2 separate regions of the Homo sapiens genome follow, and region 1 is linked to region 2. The links are contacts of gene promoters, found by promoter capture Hi-C in blood cells and fetal thymus (Javierre and others, 2016). All regions are on one chromosome and are shown on one strand. Each heading gives the region's core, a stretch centred on a gene start or on the middle of the fragment in contact. The rest is flanking DNA. Distances are from core to core; before and after follow the strand shown. Region 1 has its middle 27 kb from the start of SCUBE1. Region 2 holds the start of SULT4A1 (sulfotransferase family 4A member 1).

Region 1 (5,575 bases), core at 1,090-3,589, 490 kb before region 2:
TGGGAGTTGCTTTTTCATATTCAGATTTTGTCAATTATCTGTTAGGTTTTAAGTCTTTCTTTCATTTACTTGTATAAACATGTTCTAAATTAAAGCAATTAATTCTGTGAATGTCAGTCCCTGTTCAGCTCTGTCTTGACTTGGTATATACCTTTTTTATTCACCTAGAAATGAAAAAATGTTACGTAGTCAAAATTGTTGCACTTTGATTTTTTGATATAGAAGGTCTTTTCTAAATAGTTGAATCAGTTCTCCTTTTCCTTCATGATTTCCTCAATCATTTAAAGCTTGCAAGGTTCTCATTCCTTTAGAGTCCGGTTCAATATTCCTTTATTGTTTTGGCCAGCCTAAGATTTGATTTGCTTTATAAATAATTTATTCTTTAGTATATGTGGAAAATGGACTTAAACTTATGTTTCTTTTCATGATGTCCCAACTTCACAGTCTGAATGTTCTTCCCATTGTTCATTGTCCAGAGAAGACACCATTATCACGTATTGAACTGTTTTATGGAGGAAAGCCTGTTTCTCATCTCCCCATTAATCATGTATTTTAATATCAGAGAGGGCTTATTCCCCATCTTTTTCAAAATATTCTTGGGACTTCTCACCCATTGATTTCCCCAAATGAATTTTATTGTGGCTTCTGTGTTCTGTATCCTGCCTATAAAGATCTTTCCTTTCCAAAGATTGTAAGTTCACCTATGTTTCTTTTAGAATTTTTAAGGTTCAATTTTTTGGTTTAAATTTTGGACCCATGTGGAACTGATCTGGGTGTAGGGGGTGAGGTAGGGATTCTGTTTTATTTTTTCCAGATGGCCGCTACCCACTTATCTCTATGCCTTACTTTGAACAATGCACCTTTCCCCTCCGATGTGAAATTCCTTCTCTCATTCACGTGCTGAAATCCTACATATTTCCATCCATTTCTGCACTCGCGTCTGGATGGAACTGTCTACTTCTTTTCCAGGGCTAAACTTTAAAAGTTATTGTACTTTCCTAAGATGTTTTAACATCTGGTAAAGCCAGCCCTCCTCCACTACTTTTGTTTTTCCTCAGAATTTCCCTGGCTGGTCTCGCACGTTTATTTTTCCAGATGAAATTTGGTATCATTTCGTCAAGTTCCAAAAAATAAAAGAAAATAAAAACCCTGTTGGTTTAAGGCTTTTCTTACCAGCCAGTGTAGTGTTTTCACAGATTATTGATATTAACCCTTTGCCATTCATTTGGTTGTCAATTTAGTTCCCCTCTACCCCCATTAGTTTTTTATTCTGTGGTATGGGAGATTTGTTTTTTGTTTTTATATAGTCGTCAATCACTTTTGCTTCTCCTCAAAAAAAAAATCTCCTTAATGATTTTAAAGCTCGAAGACTTCCCATTCCTCCTGAGATCTGGTTAATATTCACTTATATTTTTGACCAGCCCTCCTAGGGTTTGCTTTGCTTGATAAATAATTTATTTTTTTCAGCATCTGTGAAAGATATGAAGAAGGCATCCAAGCTGATTTTTTTTTTTTTTTGAGATGGAGTTCTGTTCTTTTTGCCTAGGCTGAGTGCAATGGTGTGATCTTGGCTCACTGCAACCTCCGCCTCCCCGGTTCAAGCGATTCTCCTGCCTCAGCCTCCCAAGTAGCTGGAATTGCAGGCATGCACCACCACGCCTGGCTAATTTTGTATTTTTAGTAGAGACGGGGTTTCTGCATGTTGGTCAGGCTGGTCTTGAACACCTGACCTCAGGTGATCCACCTGCCTCGGCCTCCCAAAGTGGTGGGATTACAGGTGTGAGCCACTGCGCCCGACCCCCAAGCTGCTTTTATATTGGCTACTCCTTCCATTGTTCTTTGCCCACTGAAGACAGCTTGGTCATGTATTAAATTCATGTACATGAGAACATTTCTCTGCTCTCTGGTCAGTTCCATTCATGCCAGCTCTGCTGTTTAATCAGAGACTTAATCATCTATTTGAACATCTGAGAGGGCTGATTGCGCACATTTCTCAAAATATTCTTTGGATTTCTCACCCTTTTATTTCCCAAAATACCCCAGCCTGCATGATTCATTTGGCCCTCGAAGGAACCCTGAGAAGTATTAATTCCACTAGCTGGATGTGCTGGGGTTCAAAAATTGCTAAGGGCCAGATGAGACGACACCGTTATCATAGCTGTGAGAGGGAAAAGTTTGCCTCTGCATCTGAAACTCCCAGAGGAAGGAGGTTGTCTCCATTACTGAGTTTGACAGGAAGAGAAAAAGAGGGGCGTGGTGGATATGCAGTGGTGTCTAATACTCAGCCTCAGATGATCTGTTGTGGGGGCCATCACTTGGCCCTCTTACGTAAAAGCTGCCGCCCACAGTGAGTCAGTGTGGGGGACATCTGGGAAAGAGGCAGGGAGTCCCATCTGGACTGGGGAGTGGGGACCAGGGTGGGATTGGAGATGGGATGAGGGTCTCCTGCCTCCCTGGGGCACCACTGCTCTGTGGATTCTACTTTGTCTCTGTGACCTCAGGTGCTTGGTGTGTCTCTTGGGGGCCTCTTATGTCCGTGCCCATGTCATTAGCGTGTGAGGTGACAGCCCTCTGCCGCCCCAGCTTCTTTTTTGGAGCACGGGTCTCAGATGAGGGGCTGGCTGAGCAGCTGTGGGAGGACCCCTCATTTGCAACTGACATCGATAGGTCAAGCCCAGCAGCCCCTGAATGAGCAGGAAGATTGGTGCAGCTGGGGTCTTCCACAGGCAGGCGATTCCCTCCCTGCTGGGATCGTCAACCAATCTGGGGCCGTAACTCACACGGGGAACCACCCCCAACCCCCAACCACCGTGCTTGGTGTTGGAGGGCCAGAGGGTGTCTCCCAAGTCAAAGACAAAGTCTCCAGGGCAAACAGGAAAAGCCATGGCTACCCCGTCCCCGGGGCCTCACCTGGCAGCCCTGGCTTGCAGGCTCTGTCTAGGATCCGGGAACAGTGTTTATTTCTTCTCTTTATTTTTAGCTTTTATTTTCATGAAACTTATACAGGCAAATAGCTCTACAAGGTTTGTTAAGAGGAACAGCAGTTCCCTGTTCCTGTCCTTCACCCCCTCCTGTCCCCTCCCCAGAGGCAACTATTTCACCTCCTTTAACCAATTATTTTGTTTTTACCCTGTGTCATTTGCCTCTGAGACTGCATCTTTTTTTTTTTTTTTTTGTGACGGAGTCTTTGCTCTGTCGCCCAGACTGGAGTGCAGTGGCATGATCTCGGCTTATTGTAATCTCTTCCTCCTGGGTTCAAGTGATTTTCCTGCCTCAGCCTCTTGAGTAGCTGGGATTACAGGCGCCCGCCACCACACCTGGCTGATTTTTGTATTTTTAGTACAGGTGGGGTTTTGCCATGTTGCTCAGGCTGGTCTTGAACTCCTGACCTCAGGTGATCTGCCTGCCTCAGCCTCCCAAAGTGCTGGGATTACAGGCATGAGCCACTCTGCCTGGCCTCTGAGACTCCATCTTGATTTTTTTTTTTTTTAGTTGTCAGCCTCATTGGTTGACCTCTGTTTCTGGAAGGTGAGGATATCGCTGCCTCCTGACCCCTACTCACTGTGCGCACCTGCCCCCCACCCTCAGACCTGTTTTTAGGACACCAGCATTGTCAGTGGTGAAGGGCATGGAGTTCTAAGCCACTTTTCCGGGTTCTAGTCCTCCTTCTGCCACTTAGCTGTGTGATCCTGGACAAATTCTTCAGCCTCTTGGTTGATTGCCTTCTACCTGGCCTTGCTTTCAATGAGTCAATTCATGTAAATGGCTTCCAGCAGCAAATAAATGACTGTCCTCTTTGTCAACCTTTTCCGCACAGTCGCACTCCCTACCCCGACCCCAGCAAATCATTTTCGTGGTTTCTCCTTTGCATCGTTCTCTAGACAATTGTTGCTAGTTCAGTCCTGCCCTTTCCTCGCAGGGCTTCGAGATGCACTGGGGTCTTCACGCCCATCTGCCCAGGGAAGCTGGAGCCTGGTGCCCCATGCCTATAGGGCATCCCGCCTCCAGCAACCTGGGATCCCCCTTGCCTTTCTCTTTTTCCCATATCCCATATTTTCCTCTTTCTTGATTTAGCCCTTATTCTAGTGAAGTATCTTCTCTAGTAATCTTCAGAGAAAGCATGTAAGGAAAGCAGTCTATTCTCATTATTCACACCAGTTACGGTCTATAAAGTCACCAAAAATGCTGAATTACCCAACACTAAGCCAATGCTCCAAGAGGGAAATACAGGGTTCCATTCCTATGAGTCTGGGGTCACAGTGTTGTCACCAACTGATCAACACATAACTTTGTTTTATATATATTTCTGTTTAAAGATACCCTATTTAATATATATTGTTGACTCATTAACACTGAGCTCATGGCCAACAGCACTCTAACTCCTGCCTGAACGAAGCTTCTCTAACGTGGGCTTTCCCTGTAAGGCATACCCCAGACTTCCTGCACTTAGGAACACTAGACAGCTGTATTAGTCCATTTTCATGCTGCTGATAAAGACTTACCTGAGACTGGGCAATTTACAACAGAAAGAGGTTTAACTGGATTTACAGTTCCATGTGGCTGGGGAGGCCTCATAATCATGGTAGAAGGCATGGAGGAGCAAGTCCCATCTCACGTGGATGGTCGCAGACAAAGAGGAAAGGAAAATTCCGCTTATAATAACCATAAGATCTCGTGAGACTCACTATCACCAGAACAGCACGGGAAAGACCTACCCCCATGATTCAATTACCTCCTACTGGGCCCCTCCCACAACACGTGGGAATTCAAGATGAGATTTCGGTGGGGACACAGCCAAACCATATCAACAGCCCTTCAGCACTGCGCTTGGGGGTGGGGGTCATTTAAAACAGTGAAATCAGCTGGGCACGGTGGCTCAAGACCAGCCTGGCCAATATGGTGAAACCCTCATCTCTACTAAAAATACAAAAACTAGCCAGGTGTGGTGGCGCTTGCCTGCAACTCCAGCTACTAGGGAGGCTGAGGCAAGAGAATTGCTTGAACCTGGGAGGCGGAGGTTACAGTGAGTGGAGATCACGCCGCTGCATTCCAGCCTGGGTGACAGAGTGAGACGCTGTCTCAAACAAAACAAAACAAAACAACAACAACCAAAAAATCCAGGCCAGGCACAGTAGCTCATGCCTGTAATCCCAGCACTTTGGGAGGCTGAGGTGGGTGGATCACATGAGGTCAGGAGTTCAAGACCAGCCTGGCCAACATGGTGAAACCCCGTCTCTACTAAAAATATAAAAATTAGTCAAGTGTAGTGACATATGTCTGTAATCCCAGCTACTCGGGAGGCTGAGGCATGAGAATTGCTTGAACCTGGGAGGCAGAAGTTGCAGCGAGCTGAGATCGCGCCATTGCACTCGAGCCCGGGTGATAAAGCGAGACTCCATTTCAAAAAAAAAAAAAAAAAAGCCAAAAGCAAAACCAAACCAAAACAAAAAACAATCCAGTGAAATATCAACAAAAAGCACAAAAAATATGAAAAACATGACACTAACTAGACTGCAAAAAGGACACTTGTTTACATCATCAGAGTCAAAACAAGAAGGCAGAGGGTCACCTTTTT
Region 2 (6,213 bases), core at 313-2,812:
TCTGAGCCTCTGAAAAAAAGGTGTAAGAGTCCCTCACAGATTAACAGCGATAGAGCACTTGGCCCGCAGGACTTAATGAGTGGCCACAGAAGCCAACGACACGCTTAGCCATTCCTAAAGCATTTTAGGTCCCACCCCATGCGGCGACTGGCATGTGCTCAAGATAGCAGCCCATCGAACGCTCTGTTCTCCAACCAACACCCTCCACTGAGAGTCCCTACTCCAATCTTCCTCAGAAGAATGTCAGAGACCTGCCCTCAGGTGTCTGGAACTCCATACAGCTACAACAGCCAAGCCTACAGCTTTTCCTGAAACTGCCCGACTGCTGGTCCGGCGTGACCTTAGAGCCAGACACCTTCTAAACCACGCTGTGATTGCCTCAAATACAGTGGCAACAAGGAAATCCCAGGGCATGTTTACAGAACAGGAAAGCTGCTACCTCCTTTCCCTAAAAACCTCAGATGGGGTACTATACAATCTCCTACCTCAGGTCTGGAAACAGACCAGCCTAGCTTTAATTCCCAGGTCAGCCACTCACCAGCTGAGTGACCTTGGACCAGCCTCTTCCCCTCTCTGAGCCTCTGTGCCTAGACTGTAAAGTGGGAATGACCACCACTAGCTCACACAGCTGTTATTGTGAAAGTGACGTCAGCTAATGCTGGGAAATGTGAATGCCCCAGGTCCTGCCTCGGTGATGGAGGCAGCCCTGAAACAAGAGAATGTACAAGCAAGGCACTCCAGGCGGGGACTGGTCCCATCCCCCACCCGGAGCCCAGGCTGGAAAGGAGGGACGTTACGTTTCCACGCTGAAAGCCCTGACGCCCATGTTATCTCCCTTCCCAGGTGAACACCAGGACTTTGCACTCATCAAAGGTTGGGCAGGATTCAGGAACAGAGAGGTTGAGTGACCTGTCCAAGGTCACACAGCCAGCCAGGTAAAGGGAGAAGCAGGGATGGGTGGCGGCCCTGGGCCCATCCTCCTGCAGCGCCGGCCAAATAGGCTCCATCTCCACGGAAGGGGCCGCTCCCGAAGGTCTCTGACCTTGGTTTCCCCAGATGAGAACCAAGCCCCTTCCCACCCCCACCCCACCCCACCCCGCCCCGCAGGGATCCGAGCATCGGGAGAGCGGTGGGCACGGCAGGGGCGGAGGCCAAGGGCGACCACCCGGCCCAGCAGAAGCCCCGGGCGCGGGCGCGGCGTCTACGCGGCCGCGCTGCAGGGCTGGGGCATGGCGTGGCGGGCGCGGTCGGCGCGGGGCTCACCGGACTTGGGGTAGGTGACGATCCACACGTCGCTGGGCCGCACCGGGAAGTTGGCGATCTCCTCCATCTTCCCGCGGCAGAAGGGCGGCAGCCGCACGCCATGGAACTCGAAGTACTTGCTCTCGAACTCCCCCGGGGTGCTGGGGGTCTCGGCCTCGCTCTCCGCCATGCCGCCGCCGTCGCCGTCGCCGCCGCCGCCTCCCGGCTCGCAGCCCGCACGCGCCCGCGCCCGCGCCCGCGCCCGCGCCCCGCACACGCTCGCGCCCCACCGGCGCGCGGCGGCAGCTCCGCAGGCGTGACGTCATGGCGCCGCCGACGCGCGGCGGAGGCTCCGCGGGTATGACGTCATGGCGCCGCCCGGCACGCGGCCGCGGCGCTGCACGGGCGTGACGTCATGGCGCCGCGGAGCCGCGTCCTCCCCGCCCCGCCCCCGGCCGGGGTCACCCACCCGCTGCCGGGGCTGACAGAGACCCTGGCCCGCGGTCTGCAGCCTCCTCAGTCGTGCGTGCGTTCATTCCGCTCATAGCTTCTGTCACTCAGCAAGCGCTCAACACAGACGCATGAGATACCCTGGCTGGAAGGCCCTGAAAGGTAGTCGTCCATTCAACACGTGCTTAGCGCGCTGCTGATCTGTGCCAGGCACTGGGCCAGGGCCCCGACACGCGTCAGGGTAGAAGCAAGCAGAAGCCTGGCCCTGTTGGAGCTTACATTGGTAAATAACCAAGATAATTTCAGGTAAATATTAGGTCCTATTAAAAATATGCGTCTTCGCCAGGCGCGGTGGATCACGCCTGTAATCTCAGCACTTTGAGAGGTCGAGCACGGGCGGATCTCCTGAGGTCAAGAGTTCGAGACCAACCTGGGTAAATGGTGAAACCGCATCTCTACAAACATACAAAAAAAAAAATTAGCAGTGAGCTGTGAGCTTGCACCACTGCACTCCAGTCTGGGCAACAGGACGAGATCTTCTAACAACAACAAAAAAAAAGTATGGGCCACCTAGTCCAGCCAAAAAAACAAAGTGCTTTTTTTTTGCTTTTTTTTTTTTTTTTTTTTTTTTGAGATGGAGTCTCGCTGTGTCGCCCAGGCTGGAGTGCAGGGGCGCGATCTCAGCTCACTGCAAGCTCCACCTCCCGGGTTTACGCCATTCTCCTGGCTCAGCCTCCCGAGTAGCTGGGACTACAGGCACATGCCACCATGCCTGGCTAATTTTTTGTATTTTTTGTTTGTTTGTTTTAGTAGAGACGGGGTTTCATCGTGTTAGCCAGGATGGTCTCAATCTCCTGACCTCGTGATCTGCCCACCTTGGCCTCCCAAAGTGCTGGGATTACAGGTGTGAACCACCTCGCCCAGCCAAAAAGTGCTTCTTAATATCCCATGAGTAGGGGAGGGGAGTGTTGGATTGCAAATTCCAGGACCCCAGATCTATGGAGAAAAATTACAAAAATATACATTTAGTAAGGCACTTCTTGTGCAAACTATAATTTGAGAGCAACCGAGTTCTAGAGATCTCAGTGCAACCCCTTGCCAGTCATGCACTCAACAGACATATATGAAGCACCTACTAACATGCCTGGGGAAGCACAAAGATGAAAACAACACAGCCTGCTCTCATTCTCTGCAGCCGAGCATCATCAGCTGTGTAAAGGAAAAGAATGATTCCTACCTCTAAGTAGTGTAGCCAGGAAGATGGAAGGAGTTTACACCAACAAGAATCTGGAGCAGAGTGGCTGGACGGGACCTATTCCTACTCTCTCCTTCTTACTGTAGAGTGAGACACGTGCATTCTGACACCAAAGACATACACATGGGCTGAGAAGCGCAGGCCATGTGTACATAGCAGACAGAGAGAGGAAACAGCAATTAATCCTGACTTGGGAAGCTTGTAGATGTCTTTCCAAAAAAGAAAGAGGACATTCCGAGCACCCAGCCTTTATTCAGAATAATTAGGCCAATGGCAAAAGGGCATCTAGCCAAAAGCTAGAGGGATTGAGTGAATGAATGAATATCCTGATGTTTCAGGTGAGGGTTCTCACTGTGGGAGAAGGAAAATGTAAGTGGGGAATGCGAGAAGGCAGGGAAGAACTCTATGGTATTGGATTGGAATTGGAGGTATTGACATGAGTTTATGATATTTTAAAATTCCTATTTCTTATATTTGCTGGAAAAGCCTTTAGGCAGTGATATCTCAATAATACTAGGCATACCCACTGCCCAGATCTTTGCTAAATACTTCCCTCACCAAATGAACCTGGGGTTTCTTGGAGAAAAAGCCAACTCCAGGGCAAGGAAAGTACAAGATGAGCCTAAAATGTCTTGTTGAGTCTTGAACTCCTGCAAGTTCAAAAATGTTGGGAATAGGTCAGAAGGACACAGGGTATAACATGAAAGTATTATCATAGGTCAAATCGGAAACAATTTGAGCATGTTAGACAAAAATGGGAAAAAACCCACGTACCCAACAGTAGAATAGATAAATTGCGATATATTCATACAATGGAATACAGTAATTTTTTTAAAAAAGGAATGTAACTGAGAAGAATGTCACAGTCAAAATGATGAACAAACTAAGTCAAGCACAAAAAATGGTATGTCATATGATTCTATTTATATACAGTCAAAACCAAGCAAAACTGATCTATAGTGATAGAGGTGAGAATAGTCTTAACCTGGGGCATTGGAAAGAGGGTTGACTGGGAGCAGACTCAAGGTTACCTACCCTCCATAGTGTTGGAAACATCATAGCTTGCTCTTAGTGGCGGTTACATGAAGATATAGACATAGATAAAAGTACAGACATGGACATAGATGCAGGCCTTGCTTCACGGATACGCAACCAGGGGAGTCACACAGGGTTCTGTGCTCAGAAGGGCCCCACACTTTGGAATTTAATGGTCTGTGGTCACTATCTTGAAATTGTTGCATTTATCTTTGGGTTTGTTTTGTAAGTGAGGTCTGGTCAAAATTAGCTGGGAGTGGTGACACGCACCATAATCCCAGCTACTCAGGAGGCTGAGGCAGGAGGATTGCTTGAACCTGGGAGATGGAAGTTTCAGTGGGCTGAGATTGCACCACTGCACTCCAGCCTGGGTGACAGAAAAAGACTCCGTCTGAAAAAAAAAAGCCATAATGGACATTAATGAGATAATTTGCAATATTTGAATATAGACTCTAGATTAGATGATATTCTATTTTAAATTTCCTAAATTTGAAAACTGCACTGTGGTTATGTAAAAATGTCCATTTGCCTCAGAGGTACATGTGGAAGTATTTGGGGGTGAAGAATCATGATGTCTGCCACTTACTTTCAAATGGTTTTACAAAAATAAAACCACAATTATAACCCTAATGCAAGCACATGTATGTATACACATTGAGAGCGAGAAAGAAAATGTGGGAAAAGCCACAATTGGTGAATGTAGGTGATGATATATGTTCATTATGTAGTCATTTTCTATTTTGCTATAATGAATTACCACAAACTCAGCTCTGTAAGTCAGAAGTCTGATGCTGGTACCACTAGACCAAAAGGAAGGTGTCAGCAGGGCTAGCATTCCTTTCTGGAGGATCCAGGGGAGAACCTATTTCCTTGCTTTCTTTAGCTTCTAGAAGCCACCCACATTCTCTAGCTCATGGTCTCTTTCCATCTTCAAAATGGCAGACACAGTCTTTCTCACATCGTATCACTCTTTTTGTTTACTTGTTTATTTGAGACAAAGTTTCACTCTTGTTGCCCAGGCTGGAGTACAGTGGCACGATCTCGGATCACTGCAACCTCCGCCTCCCAGGTTCAAGCAATTCTCCTGCCTCAGCCTCCTGAGTAGCTGGGATTATAGGCATGCACTACCACGCCCGACTAATTTTGTATTTTTATTAGAGACAGGGTTTCTCCATGTTGGTGCAGCTGGTCTTGAACTCCCGACCTCAGTTGATCCACCTGCCTCGAACTCCCGAAGTGCTGGGATTACAGGCATGACCCACTGCGCTTGGCCATATCGCTCTTACATTGACTCTTCTTCTGTCTCCGTCCTCCACTTTTAAGGACCCTTGTGATTACATTGTACCCACCCAATAATCCAAGATAATCTCCCTATTTTAAGATCAGCTGATCAGCAACCTTAATTTCATCTACAACCTTAGTTTGACTTTGACATATAATATAACATATTCACAGGCTCCCAGGACTGGAATGTGGACATCTTTGGAGGACTGTTATTCTGCCTACCGCAATTGCAGTAAACTTTTCTATACATTTAACTTTTTTTCAGAATAGAAACCTAAAGAAAAACCTTTATTAACAGAAAATCCCTAGGAATTTGCAAAAAGGCTGCTAGAACTAATAAGTGAGTTTAGCAAGGTCATAGGATACAAGGCCAACAAATAAAAACAATCCTATTTATACATACTAGCAACCAACAATTGGGAATTGCAGTTTCAAAAATACCATTTTTAATAGCATTGAAAACTATTAAATACTTATAATATATGTAGGAAAATATGCACAAGATTTGTGTAGCAAAACCTACAAAACATGAGTGAGAGAAATGTTTTAAAACTTAAAGAAATGGAGAATTATACCCTGTTAATGGATTCAGCATTGTTAAGGTGCCCATTCTGCCCATTCTCACTTTTTTTTGTTTGTTTGTTTGAGACAGAGTCTCACTCTGTCGCCCAGGCTGGAGTGCAGTGGCGCGATCTTGGCTCACTGCAACCTCTGCCTCCTGGGTTCAAGCAATTCTCCTGCCTCAGCCTGCTGACTAGCTGGGATTACAGGCATGCATCACCATGCCCGGCTCATTTTTTTGTATTGTTTTTAGTAGAGACAGGGTTTCACCATGCTGGCCAGGCTAGTCTCAAACTCCTGACCTCGTGATCTGCCTGCCTCAGCCTCCCAAAGTGCTGGGATTACAAGCGTGAGCCACCGTGCCTGGCCTCCTCACATTTATCTAT

Evidence for each region. Contacts are between HindIII fragments. The CHiCAGO score rates a contact against its expected background, and 5 or more counts as called.
Region 1: a fragment that was not itself captured here is called in contact with the fragment with the promoter of SULT4A1 in region 2 in 1 of 17 cell types (endothelial precursors); the score reaches 6.3 in endothelial precursors.

What each region holds. Positions count from the first base shown.
Region 1 is chr22:43,367,435-43,373,009 of GRCh38, forward strand. No RefSeq gene overlaps it. Among named protein-coding and RNA genes, the nearest start is that of SCUBE1, 27 kb to the left of the region's middle. RefSeq lists an enhancer at 2,199-2,700. The HindIII fragment of the contact is 4,109 bases long and covers 286-4,394 here.
Region 2 is chr22:43,860,951-43,867,163 of GRCh38, forward strand. SULT4A1 (sulfotransferase family 4A member 1) reads right to left here and starts at 1,563. Exons shown (of 7, transcript NM_014351.4): 1 at 1,264-1,563. The coding sequence starts at 1,432. The HindIII fragment of the contact is 4,757 bases long and covers 1-3,143 here.